Regions from separate parts of the Homo sapiens genome. Here all the other regions are linked to region 1. The links are contacts of gene promoters, found by promoter capture Hi-C in blood cells and fetal thymus (Javierre and others, 2016). All regions are on one chromosome and are shown on one strand. The core of a region is centred on a gene start or on the middle of the fragment in contact, and the rest is flanking DNA. Distances in the headings are between cores, read along the strand shown.

Region 1 (2,759 bases), core at 125-2,624:
CAGAGTTGTTTTTTTTTTACCCCTCCCCCCCCCACTTTAAAAGGCAGCAACCGGAATAAATCAAGATAAAAACAGAATCACAAAAATAGTGCAGGACTGTGCAGATTAAAACTTTACAATTTTCAACGTCAAACTGCAATATGATAAAGCAACAATATTACTTAAACTGTTTATGAATATTTTTTCTCTAACAATCCAAGTCAACTTCATATAAAACACAAAGTTTCTGTACCAGCAAAAATACAAATGCTAATGAAACTTGGGCTTCTAAGGTATTATTACAAATCAGACTTAACTGTCTTAGATTTCATAAGCTTAACCCAATCCACAGCACGTTAATATACCCAATGAAGCAGTCTTAAGAATAACGCTATAGTGTGACACATGGGGAATTACCAAAGAACAACTTAAAGTATACTGACACAGGGAGAAATAAGCGGTTCTGATGATTCAAAGTTACACTCGTCTCACAGACCTAGTAATGACGCTAAAGGGAACTTTAGTGACACACCCAGCGCCGACCGCCACGTTAAGGATACAGCTCTTCCGAGGTGGAGAGGGCTCTCGCCAGCTCTGACTGCTGCTGAACCCGGATCCTGCTCCTCCTCCCAGAGGAGGTCTGCACCCCGGCTTGCCTCCTCGCTCACCCACTCCTCGCCCCCGACTCCAGCGACTCCCACCCCGGTAAGGCCTGCCTCGAAAGCGGAAACGGTCCAAGGCGAGGTGGCTCCGCTCCCAGAAAGACGGCCGGGGACTGCTTTCGGACAGTGAGCTCGAAGGCATCCGTACAGAAGGCGGATGAGACCGGAACGGTTCTTTGGGTCGGTAGCTGCTGGGTCCCCTGAGGTGGCCCCGCTCAGACGCGTGCCGCGAGCGTGAGAAATTCCTCAGCTGCTGCTGAGAAGAGGACGATGACGAGGAAGAGCCACCGCCTCCGCCAGATCCACCGCCCCGGGCCGAGTGAGGAGGCCTTCGCCGCGGATAGGGTAACAGCCCGCCGCCGCTGCTGCTGCTGCTGCTCCGACTCCGTATCTGGCTGTTATTATCGTCGTCACTGATTTCCCCATCTTCAAGCTCCCCTTCTTCCTTCGGCGAGAGGCCACTGGAGGCCGGGGCCGGAGTATCTGCGGTCGCCATCCGGGGAGCAGCGCCTTCCACACAACCTTAGCCCTCCGTCCGGGGATCCGCCCGACAATTGCCTCGTTTCCCTTCTTTCCTAACGGACTGGGTCGGTGCGGTCTTACCCTACTCGGACACCAAGCGGCCTCTGCTCCCCAACTTCCCCGCACCCCAGCACCCCAGCTCTCTCTCGCCGGACCGTCGCAACCCAGTTCCCTTTCCTAGCGCCCCCTTGCTCCTCAGCGATCGGGGTTCTTCCGCCTCGCGAGAAAGGGACTCTGGTAGCGGCTGTACCCGAAACGTCACTTCCTGCGACACGCAGGAAACAAAGGCTCCCAGTTCACGCGATAATAAGACCAACTCGATACTCACTAGGATTTGTAGTCTTTCGTCTTTCTTCGGGTTTACTCTTCCGGTCCTAGGGTCACACCCACCGCAGGGTCTGGCTTGGTACAGTTGGGTGCATGCAGAAGTAGGTGGAGCTGCTGTTGCAGCCTTGAGAGAGTTTTATTGTAAAACTCTTGTAATTTATAGTAATCGGAGGGGAAAACACCTCTTCCTTTTAATTGCTCTGAGGACCGCTGCCAAAGAAACGCAGTAGATCCGCTCCCTCTTGGGGGCGGGGAGAAAGAACGGGTTGTGTCCGCCATGTTGGTGAAGTCAAGCGAAGGCGACTAGAGCTCCAGGAGGGCCAGTTCTGTGGGCTCTAGTCGGCCATATTAATAAAGAGAAAGGGAAGGCTGACCGTCCTTCGCCTCCGCCCCCACATACACACCCCTTCTTCCCACTCCGCTCTCACGACTAAGCTCTCACGATTAAGGCACGCCTGCCTCGATTGTCCAGCCTCTGCCAGAAGAAAGCTTAGCAGCCAGCGCCTCAGTAGAGACCTAAGGGCGCTGAATGAGTGGGAAAGGGAAATGCCGACCAATTGCGCTGCGGCGGGCTGTGCCACTACCTACAACAAGCACATTAACATCAGCTTCCACAGGTAACCTGGGCAGGGAGTGGGGGTGACGGAAACTGGAGTTCCTATTGTGGCTATCGCTTGTGTGGAAGGAACAGGAGGATTCTGCTAATTCTAATAACTTTCCCAGCTGGTAGCAGGGAAGCATCGTATGTCCTTTGTGTTTCTCAAATCTGCCCAATTGTTCTCTGCTTTCGGGGAAGCTTTACTCATTTTCTAAAAGAAATCCAAGTACTGTTTGGTCATTACCCCTTAGTAAAAAAAAGTAACAGGAGGATATCGTAATTTTCTACTGTTTTATTCCTCTGTTAGACCGGGCCTTGACATGAATGACGCCGTAAGGGAGAAAGAGATCTTCCCAATCAGCAATCACCGTAAAAGCCTGCTGTGTTCCCGTTAAAATTAGGAAATTCTCACTAGATGAATTGACATGGGAGGCATTTAGATTTCTAATAGTCACATAGTAATTCTGCGGAGGAATTGAGTCATCTTTGATAGCCATGGAATTAAGCGATGTTAATTAAAGTGCAAAAGATAACCTTTCTGTTCTTACTAGAATAGAGTAATAAAAAGAACCTAGGTTTTCTTTTGTTTGCTGGAAGAAAAATCAAAATTCTTTAGTTCTGTCAAACCAGAACTCTTGAAAGCACTTTGAACAATGCCTGGAAAATAACAG
Region 2 (2,759 bases), core at 192-2,691, 8.3 Mb after region 1:
TTTATTTATTACATGCACAAGATTGTCAGAATGAGATCTGTGTATATCTTTTTCAAAGTTTAATCACACTACTGACATTCCTTACCATTAATTTGCTTGCTAATTATGATCAACTTAATTTAAATTATAAACATATTTGAAATGCTGACATGCACAGCTTAGATTTGTTTCTGCTATTATAATCTCTTTGTTAAAAATGTACATAAGATATTAATAAATACTTTGATATATCTATGTTCTCTTTATCCCTAATTTAAACCTGAGATACTAATTTACATTTATACACTTGAGAATAGAACAGTCAACAAGGACCTTGTTTCTGTCTCCTGTATTCTACACCTGGGCCAAACTCTCTTCCATTGCATAATAATTTCTTTCCAATGTTTTATTTAAGAACCTGAAGAAAAGGCTGGGCACGGTGGCTCATGCCTGTAATCCCAGGGCTTTGGGAGGCCCACGTGGGCAGATCACCTGAGGTTAGTAGTTCGAGACCAGCCTGGCCAACATGGCAAAACCCCCGTCTCTACTAAAAATACAAAAATTAGCTGGGCGTGGTGGCACGTGCCTGTAATCTCAGCTACTCGGGAGGCTGAACCCGAGAATACATGAGAATTACTTGAACCAGAAGGCGGAGGTTGCAGTGAGCCAAGATTGTGCCACTGCATTCCAGCCTGGGTGACAGAGCAAGACTCTGTCTCAAAAAGAAAAAAAAAAAGAACTTGAAGAAAAGTTTACAATCCATTCACATCATAATTTATTTAGTCCTACCCAGGGAGTTGACCAGAACCAACATGGAACCACCCTAACTTGCTTCAGACTCCATTGCTAGATCAATCCTGATTTCTAGATCATAGCATCTAATCTTTGCCTTGCCTCTGGATTACAAGGTGAGTTTCTAATTTACTTTAGGGTAAATTTTCTGCCACATCTGACTCCATTTCAAGAAACTAACCCTATCACAGTACAAGTACTGGCTAATATGCTCATAAAGCTTCTTTTGTTCCCCAAAACTAGGACTCAGATGAGTGTCTGGCAACAATCCAAAGTGCAGTTATACTGCTAAAGAGATAACTCACCTCCATTGCACATGACTCCCAACCTGTATCATGTGACAGAACATCACATGCCCCTTTCATATGAATTAATGTTTCCCAAACTTTATCAGTTTTATTGCCAAATTCAAGAACCGCAAATACTAGTATTTGCTTAATGTTTTCTTTAACCTTTTTAAGACAAATTTATTTTAAAGCAACATTATGTTGCTTTGGTAAGTGAAAAACGTTTCCACTTGACATAAAGAAGACTGTTAAAGCAAATACAATGAAAACAAAACATTAGTTAGGTTGTCTGTCAAGGGTCTGAGCCCAAGCTGTGCTCTCAATTTGTTAAAAAAGGGATATTGGTAAGGGTTGGACATGTGAGCATCAACCTAAGATTTTTCAGTTTAGCATAATCGGAAAGATTAAAAGGTAGTGAAAAAAGAATATTGTGCTAAGTGCTTCACTGTTGTTTTAATGTTACATCTACCTTATAACATTACCTCATGTACCACCAGTCTACATGTCCTACACTTTAGGAAACTGACTGACTTTAATTAGTATGTGTAATAATAATTACGATTAATTAAGTGAAGGTTATAGGATAGGCCTTAGTGGCACCCCCAACTCAAGGTGTCAAGGCAAGGCATTGGCAGGAAGGCCAATTTGTATGAAAATATCTGTGTGCTGAAGGAATTTCAGAAATAAGAGTCATTCTCCATGGCACTGAAATTAGAAGAATAAATTACAAGATCAATATCTGGAAGGCAAGTTTAGGTGCATGAGTTCTATCTTGGATCACTAATATTTAGTTGAGGGATCCATTCAATTGTCCTTCAAATCAAATCCTAGGAAAAGCTTTAAAATTCCTTCACAGACCAGAGTGCAAAAACAAGGTATTCATGAGAACCAAAACATGCTGACCGTGCTCAATTTTGACAGGTGGGAATATCAACTTCATGTGGTTGTCTTAAAGATTAAATGAATAATGTATGTGAGAGAGAAAAAAATTTGAGATTTTATTTGTGTTCTTGTATTTGCCTTTTCCTTCCCTTATTTAAGCTGATAGCAACTCTGCTTCCTTGCCTCAGGACAGGTTTGTGGCAAGGAAGAAAGCAGAAGTTGCTTTCAAAACATTTTCCCTCCTACTTGAAATGTCCACCCACCAATTTCTATTTAATAAGAATTTAGGGCTAGTGATCTGATTGGAATTAGTATATGAGGTTGCTAGAAACTTATTTAAGTTCTATTTGCATAGCATTATAAATCAATAAAAATAGCACTGTTTTCTAAATTTGCCTTTATTTTCACTTTACAAAAATTTTCACCATAACTCCATGGAATGTTATTTTTACTTAGGGTGGAACCAAGCAGAGGGGTTCACCCAAGCCATCTTTGGGTGCTTCCATGGGAAAGAAGGATTTCACTGAGAATAATAAGTGACACCAAGGCTCAAAAGAATGAGAGAGAAGTCTGTTGGTCTCTTGAACAGCAGGGATTTGCTCACAGATCTCTGGAAGTAGCCAGAATGTGACAGGATCTCAAAATGAATGGCTGCTTCATGGAGGCTGGAACATAAGCCTGGGACTCCCAGTAGCCAAACATAGCTGTGCCACAAACATGGCTGAAATGTAGCAGTTTGGTGGATCCGAGGTCAGTCATTGAAAATGTATTGATTGGCACCTATTCTTTGTGAATCATTATTCTGGGTTCTGGGGTCAC
Region 3 (2,759 bases), core at 260-2,759, 7.4 Mb before region 1:
TGAGATCATGTCACTGCACTCCCGCCTGGGCAACAGAGCGAGACAAACTCAAAAAAAAAAAAAAAAAAGAAAAGAAAAAGAAAGAAAGAATAGTAACATAATAATTTTTACCCAACCATCTTATGCTCAGAAAGACTATGTATGTATGTGGTTGTAGGTAGCACACAACTCGTATTCCTAGCAAGAGGATGTAGTAAATGCTTCCTAGGTCTTCTGAAGAACTAATTTATTGACTTACAAAATGATCAGCAAAGAGAAATTATTTATCTGGACTAGATAAAAAACATCTCAATTTTTAATAACAAGCAATGATGCATACACAAAAGAATATGGGCTCTGAAGTCACAGAGCTAAGCTGTATGACTCTAAGCAAAGTGTTCCACTTCTCTGGGACTCTATAAAAGGTGCACTATTTATACCTGTACTTCAAACCAGGTAACCAAGAAGAGGGTCTTGCATAGTGTCTGGCACACAGTAGTTGCTCAATACATGCTAATTTCCTTCAGAATAGGTATATATAAATATTTCCACCTCCCCCCCTTTTCCTACAAGGTGAAAAATCAATTGCTGTTTTATTAAAGAACAATGACATTTTAGTTTTTAAACCATAAAACTGTATGAGTCTACTTCCAAGTTGTTTTATTTCTGGCCTTTCGTCTGAACTCTAGACCCCCATTTCCAAATGCCTGCTAAATCTTTACTCGAAAATCTGCTAGCAACTCACACTCAACTTGCCCCAATTTTAGCTTACTACCTTCCTTCTAAACCAGTTCCTCTTCAGTCCCTCTTGTCTTTTCAATTCTGTAAACAATATTATCATTAGAGGGGCAAAACCTAAGTATCATCTTTGACAGCAACCTCTCATTATTCCTGCCATCCTGTTGACAAGACTTATAGACTTCTTGTCAGCATCTCCTATCCCACTGTCTTGCAACCATGAGGCCCTCCTTCTGCCTATTAGGCTACCATCATAGCCTGCTAAACTAACCTTTTCTCCTGTAACCTCTCCCTTCACCATCCCATTGCACACACAGTGCCACAGTAATTAGTCTAAGATGAGAACATGATACTCCTGGTTCAAAACTTTTCATGGTTCCCCACTGCTTACCAAATTAAGTACAAATTTTCAACCTGGAACACAACTATTCACTCATTTATTCAGCAAACATCTATTCAGCATCTACTATGTGCTAGGTTCTGTTCCAGGTGCTAAAAGCACAGCAGCTGTGATGGAGCTCACATTCTAGTTTTTGAGAAAAGGAAAGAAAAAACACCCTAAACAAACAACAGTAACTTCAGATGGCAATAAATCAGGAGAATAAGATAGTGACTAAAAGCAGAATAGTTTTGGTAGGATAGTGAGAGAAGCCTTCTCTGTTTGAACCAAGACTTAAAGATGAGAAGATAACTACAGTAAGAACTTATAAGAGAGAAAGAATTGCAAGTACCAAAACCCTGAAGCCTTTTTGTATTCTGAAATATCCTCTCATCTCAAAACACCTGCCGTCTTCTTTCCTACAGTTGCTTTCGAAATCCTACCTGCCGTTAAAAGCTCAACTCGGCTGGGCATGGTGGCTCATACCTGTAATCCCAGCACTTTGGGAGGCCAAGACAGGGAGATCACAAGGTCAGGAGTTCGAGACCAGCCTGACCAACATGATGAAACCCCATCTCTACTAAAAATACAAAAAAAATTAGCCAGGCATAGTGGCATGTGCCTGTAATCTCAGCTACGCAGGAGGCTGAGGCAGGAAAATCACTTGAACCCAGGAGATTACAGGCACTTAGTGGATGCCCTCCTCCACTAAGAATACTTAAAATGAAATCTAAACTGTATGGCAGAAACTCTAAAAGCAATTACAAAGGAGTTTCCAACACATGTTAAAGAATGGCTTGTTCAAAGGAACAAGCAGATAAATCACTGATTACTTTAAAAGGGACAATATTTATTTGAATAATAATTTGTTAAAAATTCACATTATTTTCAGCCAGGTGCATTGGCTCAGGCCTGTAATCCCAGCACTTTGGGAGGTGAAGACGGGTGGATCACTTGAGGTCAGGAGTTCAAGACCAGCCCGGCCAATATGGTGAGACCCCGTCTCTACTAAAAAAAAAAAAAATACAAAAATTAGCTGGGTGTGGCGTGTACCTATAATCCCAGCTACTCAGGAGGCTGAGGCAGGAGAATTGCTTGAACCCAGGAGGTGGAGGTTGCAGTGAGCTGAGATCATGCTACTGCACTCCAGCCTGGGCAACAGAAAATACAATAATACGTATTTTCATATTATTTTACTATGTTACAATTTGGTTTCCAGAAAAAAGAAATTCCTATTATTTTATATACAATTCTCTTGTTGTGTGAACTCTTTCCTAAGCAGCAAAATCGGTTATAATACAAGTTTTACGATTACTTCATTCTCGGTCTTTTGCTATTGCTTAGCAGCCGTGTGGTGTTAATAAGACCAATGAAGGTGCCTAATGTATACCTGTTGATTAATGAATATGTATAAAATGTAATCCAGTTATTTATTTCACAGTTATTTCATCACAGATTTTCATAAGAGTGTGGAGAAAAACTCTGAGCTTGTGTGGGATTGATAGGACAGCCACGCTTTCTCCCTCCCTCCTCCCCACACTGACCTGGAGCTGTATTTTTTCATGATGGCATCCAAAAGGCCAACGAGCTCTTCAGCATTGATGAACTTCTGTGTGCTGAGGGTGTACATCTTCTCATAGAAGTCTGCTATCTCCATCCGAGC
Region 4 (2,759 bases), core at 81-2,580, 7.3 Mb before region 1:
GATTGCCAAGCGTCCTGTGCGCATCTCATTAACGCATCTGCTTATTCATGCATTTATTCTTTTGCTGGGGAGGGGGTGGAGGGGAACGGTGTCTCACTCATTCTGTAGCTCAGGCTGGAGTGCAGGTGGGGCGATCTCGGCTCACGGCAACCTCCGCCTCCCAGGTTCAAGCGATTCTTGTGCCTCAGCCTCCCAAGTAGTTGGGATTACAGGTGCACACGACCACGCCTGGGTAATTTTTGTACTTTTGGTGGAGACGGCGTTTCACCATGTTGGCCAGCCTGGTCTCGAACCCCTGACCCCCGGTGATCTATCCACCTTGGCCTCCCAAAGTGTAAGGATTATAGGCGTGATCCACGGCACCCGGCCTTATGCATTTATTCTTATTGAGCATCTAACATGCTCTAAGCATCGGGGGCAAAAAAGTAAATGAGATATAACAGCACTTAACACACAGCATTTATTTGCACGGGTGTTGGCTTTCTAGCCCTCCAGCGACTGCTTCTAGGTAGGGGCCCTCTTTCGTTTTTGCATCCTCCGAGTCTAGCACAGTGCCTGGCACTGACTAGGTGCTTTGTTAACAAAGGAATGACTTTAAAAGGTATTTTTGATAGGGAGCTCGGTTCTCAAACCTGTAGCCCTACGTGGGGTAGGGGAGGCGGGAGAATGGGTGAACAGGCAGACACGAGGAGAATGGGAGACGTGTTTGTATTAGGAGTGCTCACAGCAATCCACAGCTTCCCTGTGTTCCTCGTTCTCAAATAAGAGGAGGGGAGTCGAGGGCAGGATGGGGCAGCCCTCCCCGCGCAGGAGGGCTGGGTTTGGGGGCCCCAGCCGGGAGTTCTCACTGCGCTCCCGAGCCCGCCTGCCCACCCGCGCCGCTCACCAGGTCAATGGCCACGACGTCCCGCAGAGCCACTACCCGCCGGATGGACTTGGGCGGGTTCTCGGTTAGGTAGACGAGCCGGTCGCTTAGCACCACATACTTGAGGATGTGGTTCTCAGAGTTGGACACCACGATGCATGGCTCGTAGGCGCGGACCGCGTCGTAGACCTCGGGCGGCAGATGCCGCCGCAGGAACACATCCAGGCGGCTGTTCCTGCGCGCGGGGAAGCCGGACGGCAAGGGGCTGGCCATGCCCGGCGCCCGCAGCGTGGCGGAGTGCTGGGACTCGAGGCCCTCAGCTCGCCCTCTCCCCGCCCCCGCGCTGGAACCCGCGCGCCACAAAGCCGCCGGCCACGCGTCGCCTCCTCTCCAGGCGCGGGGACCCGGGCCGCAACTGCAGGAATCGACGCTAGGTCGGCTTCCCTGGAGCGCCCTCCCCAGCCCTGTCCAGCCTCTCGATCTTTGTCCTAACCTCAGACGGCGATGGGCGGGGCAAGACGCTGGTCCTTCAGGCCCGAGTTGATGGGCACCTCGGGCTCATCACCGTGAAGTCCCCTGCGGCCGAAGGGCGGTGGATTTTTAGGGTCTCTCCCGCCCACCCCTAATGCCAGTCCCCACCACTGCGTACTCTGTTGCGGATCACACCATCCAATACAAACTTTATTGGTAATGGAAGCCAGCTTCAATCTGGTTTCCTGTTAGAAACTTGAAAGAGTTTAATTTACCGATTTATTTTTAACAACCCTAGAAACCTATTAAACCCAATCACACAGATTTAGCTTTTGGTTATAACATGGCCTGGCACAGCTTTCTGATATTGTCGGAGTGTAAACATAGGTCTTCTTTCTCCAACCAGTGAGAAAGGGATTTTTTTTTTCTTTTCTCTTTTTTTTTTTGAGACGCAGCTTTGCTCTTGTTGCCCAGGCTGGAGTGCAATGGCGCCATCTCGGCTCACCGCAACCTCCCCCTCCCGGGTTCAAGCGATTCTCCTACCTCAGCCTCCTGAGTAGCTGGAATTACAGGCATGCGCCACCACGCCCAGCTAATTTTGTATATTTTAGTAAAAACGGGGTTTCTCCATGTTGGTCAAGCTGATCTCCAACTCCCGACCTCAGGTAATCCGCCCGCCTCGGCCTCCCAAAGTGCTGGGATTACAGGCGTTAAGTCACCTCGCCCAGCCTTTGAGAAAGGGATTCTTCACATGAATTGATGTGAGCACACCCAAACCAACCTAAGGCATATGGTTTTGTTTCCAATGCCCAGGACAATCTATGCAGGAAGAATGAATGGGTGATGCTGGCATCTTGAAAAGTTGAAGCTGATAGACTGAAGAATGCGGATTACATACCCTGAGGCTGCAGAGGAGTAAGTATTCCTTAGTTTTTACAGGCCAAGAATAACTTACTAATTAGGTTAGAGAAATGAGAAGGGCACAACAGAAATGCTCTAAGTCAGAAGTTCCATTTTTTATTTCGAATCCTAGAAAAGTTATTCTCTTCCCCTCCCCATTGACCCAAAAACCTGATAATGAAACCATATCGTTCATTGCTGTGGCTGCCAGCAACCCTGAATCAAATTTGATATATTCTTTATATTCTCCCTTTCTACATATTTTATTATTGTATACTGTATGTTATAAGCAACTTCAAATCCCTTGTGGAAAGAAGGTATAAATATATTACAATCCATAAACAGATATTGTAGACTACACTAGTACAAAGGGAAAGAGAAATGTTTTGGTCTGGCTAAACTTTTTTTTTTTTTTTTTTTTTGAGACAGAGTCTCCCTCTGTCACCCAGGCTGGAGTGCAGTGGCATGATATCGGCTCACTGCAGCCTCTGCCTCCTGGGTTCAAGCCATTCTCCTGCCACAG
Region 5 (2,759 bases), core at 151-2,650, 7.3 Mb before region 1:
ACCCTGCCTGGCCAGCATTTTTTTAAAAAGCCATAGCAAATTCAAGGAAGCTTTTATTGGACTTCTCAATCAGGGATTCTTAGAAACTCCGAAATCGTTTTTTCTCTCTGTGGGCATTTTTCAGGGGAATGGACATCAGATTTTCTTAACATTTAGGGGGCGAAGGGAACCAGTGCCTTTCTTTGTGTTTTTCTGTCTTTTAAAAATGCTGATCTGGTATAAGAATGCCCCAAGTCGTTTCCATTCCACATGTTCCTACCTCTGACTATAAACAACGTATTGAGGGCTCACTATGTGCCAGCCATGCTCTGCATACCTTATCTCTTTGAAGCCTTTACAACTTTATGAGGCATATGGTCTTTTTCCCATGTCATAGAAAGGGTTCTCTCAGGTTTTGTAAGTTGTCCAAGTGGCCCCAATTAAAAAATGACAAGATGGGGATACAAACCCAGGTCTTTGAAATCCAAAACCTATGCTCTACTATGTCCTAGGGACATAGTGATGGATAGTCAAGACAGTCCTTGCCCTTTAAGATTGTGAGAAATGGCCGGGTGGCTCACACCTGTAATCCCAGCACTTTGGGAGGCCGAGTCTGGCAGATCACCTGAGATTAGGGGTTCGAGACCAGCCTGGGCAACATGGTGAAACCCCATCTCTACTAAAAAATACAAAAATTAGCCGGGTGTGGTGGCTCACCCCTGTAATCTCAGCTATTTGGGAGGCTGAGGCAGAAGAATCACTTGAACCCAGGAGCCAGAGGCTGCAGTGAGCCGAGATCATGTCACTGCACTCCACCCTGGGCAACAGAGTGAGACTGTCTCAAAAAAAAAAAAAAAAGATTAATGAGAGAAAACTAGTAAGCTGGCAGTGACAGCATAGCAGTGCTTAGGATGGGGCATGTAATCCAATTTGGGAGAGTTGGACAATAGAGGTCAAAGAAGTGTTCTTGAAAGAGATGGCTTCTAAGTTGAATTTCAAAGGACAGCAGGGGTTAACCTACTAACAAGAAGAAAGAGCAGTGTGCAAAGATGAAAGGTAGAATACCACTGGAGAACTGCCATATGGTTCACTAGCACTGGCCTTGCTGACCTGGTGTGCAGAATAGTGAGGAGTTATTCAAAAGTGTTTGGATCGTAATCTGAGGGCAGTAGGGAGTTACACTGCCTTGAAGTCTGCAAGTACGTTATGAACCATAAGAGAAAGGGCTGAGCTGTCTTCAAAGCTCTCAGTCCATATCCTGAGTTATTTGATTCAGGCAGGCTCAGAGGAAAACAGAAAAGCCTATTGTAGGTATCCTGTAACCTGGACCTGAGCCTGGTTTTGCTATTCCCAAAAGGCCTTTCTCCCCTACCCCTGCTATTCCCAAAAGGCTTTTCTCCCCTACCCCCAATCCAATTAGTTTTTTGGCGTCTTTGGTTAACGGTAATTGAAACAAAAAGCCCCACAGCCTTTTTTTGTTTTTTTTGAGACAGAGTCTCGTTCTGTCACCCAGGCTGGAGTGCAGTGGCGTGATCCCAGCTCACTGCAACCTCCACCTCCTGGGTTCAAGCGATTCTCCTGCCTCAGCCTCCCAAGTAGCTGGGATTACAGGTGTGTGCCACCATGCTCCACTAATTTTTTTGTATTTTTAGTAGGGGATTTTACCATGTTGGCCAGGCTGGTCTTGAACTCCTGACCTCAAGTGATCCACCTGCCTCGGCCTCCCAAAGTGCTGGGATTACAGGCATGAGCCAGCACGCCTGGCCCCCCACAGCGTTTAATGGAAGTAGTAAGACTTGGTCTCCCTACCTTATAGGTCTTGAGAGAATAATATCATTTTTCACATCATTTAGAGTTTGTTCCATGTTTGCTCAAATGAATATGCATTCTATCAAAAACTAGGATGCCTTTTGCAGCTTATTATTTGAGAATGTTGGAACCTATATTGTGAAGAAGTGGATTACCTCTCAGAGATTAAAAAAAATCCTTAAATAAGAGTAGTCAGTGTTAAGTCATTTGTGGATTTTTTTTTGTGTGTTTTGTTTTTTTTGAGATGGAATCTCACTCTGTTCTCCAGGCTGGAGTGCAGTGGCGCAATCTTGGCTCACTACAACCTCTGCCTCCTGGGTTCAAGCGATTCTTGTGCCTCAGTCACCCGAGTAGCTGGGATTACTGGCATGTGCCACCAAGCCTGGCTGATTTTTGTCTTTTTAGTAGAAACAGGGTTTCACCGTATTGGTCAGGCTGGCTTGAACTCCTGACCTTAAGTGATCTGCGCACCTCAGCCTCCCAAAGTTCTCAGATTACCGGTGTGAGCCACTGTAGCTGGCTGGTTTGTGGGTTTTTGTATCTACTATTGAAAAACTTTTTTTTTTTTGAAATTTTTAGAATTGGCTGGCAAGAGCAGAGATCTGTAAAATGCAAAACTAAGTCCATTGCTCAAAAGCTAAATGACTGGTTTTTCATTATCCTGTTCCTTTCATTAGACTTCTGTCATAGTACTTAGTAAACACTCCAAAGGATATTGAACTCTGAGGTCAGCCATTCTAATGTTTTAAAGAAGGTTTGTGATATTTGTATCTGGAAGTAGACAAATTATTATAATTACTGTAATAGTCTGCATTTGTCATTTTTATACTTAACTGCAGTTGCACAATTGCATTTTTAAGTACTAGAGATAAGTAAAACACTGCATAAATTAGGTACTTCTACTATTTAAAGTAGAAAATGATTACTTTCTATACCTTATTAAGAAGATCTTGAAGACTAAGAAAGCTTGA
Region 6 (2,759 bases), core at 142-2,641, 7.2 Mb before region 1:
GATGGAGAAACTGAGGCTTAGAGAGGTTAAGTAACTTGCCCAAGTGCAGCAAACCACCAGGGCACATGTATACCTATGTAACAAAACTGCATGTTCTGCACATGTAACCCAGAACTTAAAGTATAATTTTAAAGAAGGTGCCAGAGCCAGGCTTCAAACCAAGGCAGTCTGGCTCTCGGGTCTGTGTTCTTAAGCACAATACTATATTGCCTTTAAAGTGTACATGTATTGTTCCGATTCTTTTTAAGCTTATTAATGTCAAGCAAGAAAATAGTTGTAAGTATCTTTTAATCTTCAGGGCCCAGAATGTGTTCAGTATCTTCAACAAGAATACCTGCCCTCCTTGCAAGTAGCTCCAGAAATAATTCAGGTAAGAGCTATTTCTTACCATTGTGTAGGCGAGAGATCACAGTAGTAGCAGCATTGCCTGTGACATTGTCGCTAGCAGAAATCAAAAATATTTTCATATTACATAAGTTGTTGCCAGCATCTCAAAATACTGTTTATGCTTATCACCATTTTGAAATTATGAGTTACTAAGTAATATCACTACACCTTGTTACCCAACAAGTTAATAAGTCCTTACTGTTCTAGCATACTTTAGTTTGATAACCATTATTCAGTATAATTGGCTTCTATCGTAATCCCATGTATTATGTTTTATGCATTTTTTTAAAAAAACATTCTAAAGGAGCCTAATAGGCTTTTCCAGACTGCTGAAGGGGACCACAGCAGAGTTCTGAAGCTTTGTACCAGGTAGTTCATTGTGTGTACACCAAGCTTATCAATGCTTAATCTGTAAATCTGAAACTATTTTAAGGAAAGTGTCTGGAAAGTTACCTTATACTTTTAAGAAGTCATTTGTATAATATTGTTTCTTGGCATATAATTTTCCAGATTTCTTGTCCAGTAGTACATGGAGTTAATGAAGTATCAAACTTGATTAAAACTAGAATTACAATCTCTTATGTAGATTCCAAAATTTGTTTCTTCATCAATAGTGTTTTTATTTTATTGTAAGAACACTTACATGAGATATATACCATCTTAACAATTTTTACGTGCACAACACAGTATTATTAATTATAGGGACAGTGATGTGCCTATAAAATATAGGTGGATCTCCAGAACATATTCATCTTGCATAACTAAGACTTTATACCCACTGATTAGCAATTCCCATTTCCCACAGCCCCCATCTCCTAGAAACTACCATTCTACTCTCTGATTCTGTGAATTTGACTACTTTAGATACCTAATATAAGTGGAATCATGCAGTTATCTCTCTTTTTGTGACTGGCTGTTTCACACAATGTCCTTTAGGTTCATCCATGTTGTTACATATGGCAGGATTTCGCAATTTTTTAAGGCTGAATAACATGCCACTGTATGTATATATCACATTTTCTTTATGCATTAATCCACTGATAGATTCATTGGGGCTATTTTCACATTGTAAGTGCTACAGTTAACATGGGAATGCTAATATGTCTTTGAGATGCTGATTCCAATTCTTTTAGATAAATACCCAGAAGTGGGATTGCTGGATTATATGGTAGTCCTATTTTTAATTTTTTGAAGAAACATCTTACTATTTTCTATAGTGGCTATACACCATTTTGCATTTCCATCAGTTGTGTAGCAGGGTTCCAGTTTTTCCACAATGTCACCAACACTTGCTGTCTTTCATTTTTTTGTAATAGCCATTCTAACAGGTGTGAGGTGATATCTCATTGTGGTTTTGATTTGCATTTCCCTTATGATTAGTGATGTTTGTTTTTTCATACACCTGTTAACCATTTGTATTTGGAGAAGTCTATTCAAGTCTTTACCCCATTTTCTAATCAAGTTATTAAGTTTTTTGCTATTGAATTAGAGGAGTTTTTTTATATGTTAGAAATTAACCCCTTATCAGATAAATGGTTTGCAAATATTTTCTCCCATTCTTTAGCTATTCCAGAGGTTGCCTTTCTGCTCTGTTGATTGCTTACTTTATGGTGCAGAAGCTTCTTAATTCAATGTAGCCCCACTAATGTAGCTTTTCGTGATATCAATGAAATCATTTCAAAGACCAGCATCTTGAAGCTTTTCTCCTATGTTTTCTTCTAGTTTTGCAGTTTGGAGACTTACATATAAAGTCTTTAATACATTGAGTTGATTTTTGTGTAAGATAAGGGTCTCGTTTTCTTTTGCACGTAGATATCCAGTTTTACCAGCACCATTATTGGAGAGATTATTGTTCCCCATTGTGTATTCTTAGTACCCTTGTTGAAGATCAGTTGACTGTATACAGGAGTTGATTTTCAAATTCTATTTTGTTCCATTGGTTTATATGTCTGTCTTAAAAGAGAGAGGGTCTCACTCTGTTGTCCAGACTCAAGTGCAGTGGCACCATCATAGTTCACAGCAACTACAAACGCCTGGACTCAAAGAATCCTTCTGCCTCTGCCTCCCAAGTAGCTAGGATATATGTCTGTCTTTTGCTAGTACCATACTGTTTTCACACTGTAATATTAAAATATATTTTGAAATCTGGAAGTGTGGTACATCCAGCTTTGCTCTTTCTCTGGATTGTTTTGGCTATTCAGGGCCTTTTGTGATTCCATGTAAATTCTAGTTTTGTTTTTTCTATTTCTATAAAATATGCTCTTGGAACTCTTATACGGATTGCCTTGAATCTGTACGTCACTTTGTTTTTTATTTTTGGAATGATTAAGAAGCTTTTTAAAATTTTTTAAATTTATTTTTATTTTTTTTGA
Region 7 (2,759 bases), core at 121-2,620, 7.2 Mb before region 1:
GAAAAGTTAACTGTATTACTTTGATATTCTTAATAAAAATCTCATAGGTGGAATATAGTGTTCAGTCTCTCTCTCCTGCTTTGATTAGTTTAAAATTATTAGGCCTTGGAGAAGCCCTTATGAGTTTCACTTTCTATTTCGTCTTTAAAAGATGATTTTGCTTTTGATACTATTATGGCTTTTATCTTCTGATGTGTGACTATTTTTGCCCCTACTGTATCCTCATGAAAGGTTTATTTATAATATGAAAGAAAATATCCATTTCTGAATTCCAAAAGGTGTAATTTGAAAGAAATGTTGAGCAGTTAATTGATTCATTTTAACTTTTTAGAAAAGTCAAAAGTCCTCATACAGATTCCCTGTGCCTAAAAGATGCATGATGTTCTGTAAGAAAATAAGTTGCAATAGCGAGTTCTAATGCTACCTTTTAATCTCTTTTACAATATTATGAATAAATAAAACATTTCTCTCTCTTTTTTAAAGAAAACTGGTGATTTATTTGCTATCAAAGTATTTAATAACATAAGCTTCCTTCGTCCAGTGGATGTTCAAATGAGAGAATTTGAAGTGTTGAAAAAACTCAATCACAAAAATATTGTCAAATTATTTGCTATTGAAGAGGAGGTAAGTAGTAAAACTTCAATCTTATATTTATTGTAGTTACGAGTCAAGAAATAGAACCTAATATTAAAAAATGGATTTTTTAAAAAACTGTTGAAAATTAGGGTTTGTACAACCAAATACTTTATCCTAAAGGATTCTTGAATATATAGAACAATAGAAATAAAATATCATAAAAATGGAATCAGAAACAGTAGTGTAAGAAATAAAAGGGGGCGGCCGGCTGCGGCTGGGTGCAGTGGCTCACACCTATAATCCCAGCACTTTGGGAGACCGAGGCAGGTAGATCATGCGGTCAAGAGATTGAGACCAGCCTGGCCAATGTGGTGAAACCCCGTCTCTACTAAAAATACAAAAATTAGCTTGGCATGGTGGTGCGCACCTGTAGTTCCAGCTACTTGGGAGGCTGAGACAGGAGAATTGCTTGAACCCAGGAGGCAGAGGTCACAGTGAGCTGAGATCGCACCACTGCACTCCAGCCTGGCAACAGAGGGAGACTCCATCTCAAAAAAAAAAAAAAAAAAAGAAAGGATCATTTGAGCTCAGGAATTCAAGAACAGCCTGGGCAACATGGCAAAACCCTGTCTCTGTAAAAAATACAAAAATTTGCCATGCATGGAGGTGTACGCCTGTAGTTCCAGCTACTCAGGAGGCTGAAGTGGGAGGATCACCTGAGCCTGAGAGGTCAAGGCTATGGTGAACCATATTGTGCCACTGTACTCTAGCATGGGTGATGGAGTGAGACCCTGTCTCAAAAAAAAAAAGAAAGAAGGAAATAAAAGGGTATTGAATATGGTTACCAGTATTATTACTAGAAAAAGAAAGGTAACAAGTTAAATCTAATAATTATAAAGAGAAAAAATAATTATAAAAAGAAAAAATCGAACTTTAAAAAAATAAAAATTTTGTATTTCATGAATAAAAATTTCAAGAGTCCTACAGTTTAAGATATGAAGTCCAATTATAAAAGAATTGATTTTTTTAAGGGGAAATAGTGGAATTAAGAATGTCATTAGGAAAAGTAATCTAGAAATAATGGAAATAGAAATTATTTTAATCCCTTTAAACATGAGCAATCAATAAAATCTTTGGGAAAAAATGTAGTTTATACTCTTTATCCGAGTGATTTTATTTTTAGTGATTATTTCTTAGGAAGTAATCAGAAATATAATTTTATGCATGAAGATGTTAATTGGCATCCTGTTTATAATAAAGAATGGTTAAATAAGTTGAATAAATTAGAATGTGTGGCAGATAGTTACCTGGAATTAGCCAAACTCAAGATTAAGAGCATAGCCTTCCACACTGCCAAGTCTGCTCAAGACTTTTGATACCAATTGCAAAGGAGTTTGGCAAACTGCACAGAGAGAACAGTTCCCACAAGATTACCCTCACATCATCCCAGCCGGCTACAAATGTGGGGGTTGCCCATGACACTCAGGTTTGGTAATTTGCTGGAATGTAGAAATGACTCACAAAACTGAGGAGAGTGCTATACTTATAATTACAGTTTTATTGTAGCAAAAAGATAGAAATTAGAACCAGCCAGAGGAAGAGACACAAAGCGTGGAATGTGGGAGGGTTCCAATCTTGAAGCTTCTTTGTCCTGAGGGACACATTACTCTCTCAGCATTGATGTATGACAGTATGCATGAAGTATTGCCAGTCAGGGAAGCTCACCCAAGCCTTTGGTGTCCAGGGTTTTTACTGAGGCTGGATCATTTATTGCCTGTATTGCTGACCTTTAGTCCCCAGCTCCTTCCAGAAGTTTGGGGTAATTCCTTTAGTCTCCATTAAGCCCCCATCCTAAATCATGCTGTGAGACTCTCCAGTGGCCAAAGCCCCCAGAGGAACAAAGACAGAAGTCTTGTTCTTTCAGATAGGACATTTTAGGGGCCAGAGATCACTGTCCAGTAGCCAAGGGCAAAGCCTGACTTCTCTTTGGGTAAAGTTAATTTTTTACCACACAATAGTTAAGTGGTAATGAAAAGAGATATTTACCAAAATTTTAATCTTCTTGGAACACCTTATATATGATGTTATGTGAGAAGAATCAGGATTAAAAATATATATGTAGTATGATCTTAACATATACAGTGTAATATGCAAACAGCATTATGTATCTATGACATTATTTC

Evidence for each region. Contacts are between HindIII fragments. The CHiCAGO score rates a contact against its expected background, and 5 or more counts as called.
Region 2: a fragment that was not itself captured here is called in contact with the fragment with the promoter of ZFC3H1 in region 1 in 4 of 17 cell types (total CD8 T cells, M0 macrophages, fetal thymus and 1 more); the score reaches 11.1 in total CD8 T cells.
Region 3: a contact is called between a fragment that was not itself captured here and the fragment with the promoter of ZFC3H1 in region 1, in 2 of 17 cell types (non-activated CD4 T cells and total CD4 T cells). The highest score is 12.3, in non-activated CD4 T cells.
Region 4: the fragment with the promoter of C12orf56 here is called in contact with the fragment with the promoter of ZFC3H1 in region 1 in 5 of 17 cell types (naive CD8 T cells, activated CD4 T cells, total CD4 T cells and 2 more); the score reaches 11.8 in naive CD8 T cells.
Region 5: a fragment that was not itself captured here is called in contact with the fragment with the promoter of ZFC3H1 in region 1 in 12 of 17 cell types (activated CD4 T cells, total CD8 T cells, naive CD8 T cells and 9 more); the score reaches 20.9 in activated CD4 T cells.
Region 6: a contact is called between a fragment that was not itself captured here and the fragment with the promoter of ZFC3H1 in region 1, in 4 of 17 cell types (activated CD4 T cells, non-activated CD4 T cells, total CD8 T cells and 1 more). The highest score is 8.9, in activated CD4 T cells.
Region 7: a contact is called between a fragment that was not itself captured here and the fragment with the promoter of ZFC3H1 in region 1, in 8 of 17 cell types (activated CD4 T cells, naive CD8 T cells, non-activated CD4 T cells and 5 more). The highest score is 20.9, in activated CD4 T cells.

What each region holds. Positions count from the first base shown.
Region 1 is chr12:71,662,474-71,665,232 of GRCh38, forward strand. It overlaps ZFC3H1 (zinc finger C3H1-type containing), which reads right to left and starts at 1,375. Exons shown (of 35, transcript NM_144982.5): 1 at 540-1,375. The coding sequence starts at 1,137. THAP2 (THAP domain containing 2) reads left to right here and starts at 1,828. Exons shown (of 3, transcript NM_031435.4): 1 at 1,828-2,107. The coding sequence starts at 2,037. RefSeq lists enhancers at 998-1,117, 1,470-2,028, 1,478-1,837. The HindIII fragment of the contact is 1,665 bases long and covers 313-1,977 here.
Region 2 is chr12:79,937,966-79,940,724 of GRCh38, forward strand. PPP1R12A-AS1 (PPP1R12A antisense RNA 1) reads left to right here. Exons shown (of 2, transcript NR_146535.1): 2 at 2,397-2,759. Among named protein-coding and RNA genes, the nearest start is that of PPP1R12A-AS1, 4.1 kb to the left of the region's middle. The HindIII fragment of the contact is 904 bases long and covers 990-1,893 here.
Region 3 is chr12:64,213,038-64,215,796 of GRCh38, forward strand. KICS2 (KICSTOR subunit 2) reads right to left here. Exons shown (of 3, transcript NM_152440.5): 2 at 2,641-2,759. Among named protein-coding and RNA genes, the nearest start is that of KICS2, 7.9 kb to the right of the region's middle. RefSeq lists a silencer at 2,166-2,363. The HindIII fragment of the contact is 6,969 bases long and covers 1-2,759 here.
Region 4 is chr12:64,389,428-64,392,186 of GRCh38, forward strand. It overlaps C12orf56 (chromosome 12 open reading frame 56), which reads right to left and starts at 1,331. Exons shown (of 13, transcript NM_001170633.2): 1 at 887-1,331. The coding sequence starts at 1,138. The HindIII fragment of the contact is 6,871 bases long and covers 1-2,759 here.
Region 5 is chr12:64,406,663-64,409,421 of GRCh38, forward strand. The region is part of intron 1 of XPOT (exportin for tRNA); the gene reads left to right. Among named protein-coding and RNA genes, the nearest start is that of XPOT, 3.6 kb to the left of the region's middle. The HindIII fragment of the contact is 2,704 bases long and covers 49-2,752 here.
Region 6 is chr12:64,438,946-64,441,704 of GRCh38, forward strand. XPOT (exportin for tRNA) reads left to right here. Exons shown (of 25, transcript NM_007235.6): 23 at 299-370. Among named protein-coding and RNA genes, the nearest start is that of TBK1, 12 kb to the right of the region's middle. The HindIII fragment of the contact is 1,226 bases long and covers 779-2,004 here.
Region 7 is chr12:64,459,706-64,462,464 of GRCh38, forward strand. It overlaps TBK1 (TANK binding kinase 1), which reads left to right. Exons shown (of 21, transcript NM_013254.4): 3 at 484-624. Among named protein-coding and RNA genes, the nearest start is that of TBK1, 9.0 kb to the left of the region's middle. The HindIII fragment of the contact is 1,690 bases long and covers 526-2,215 here.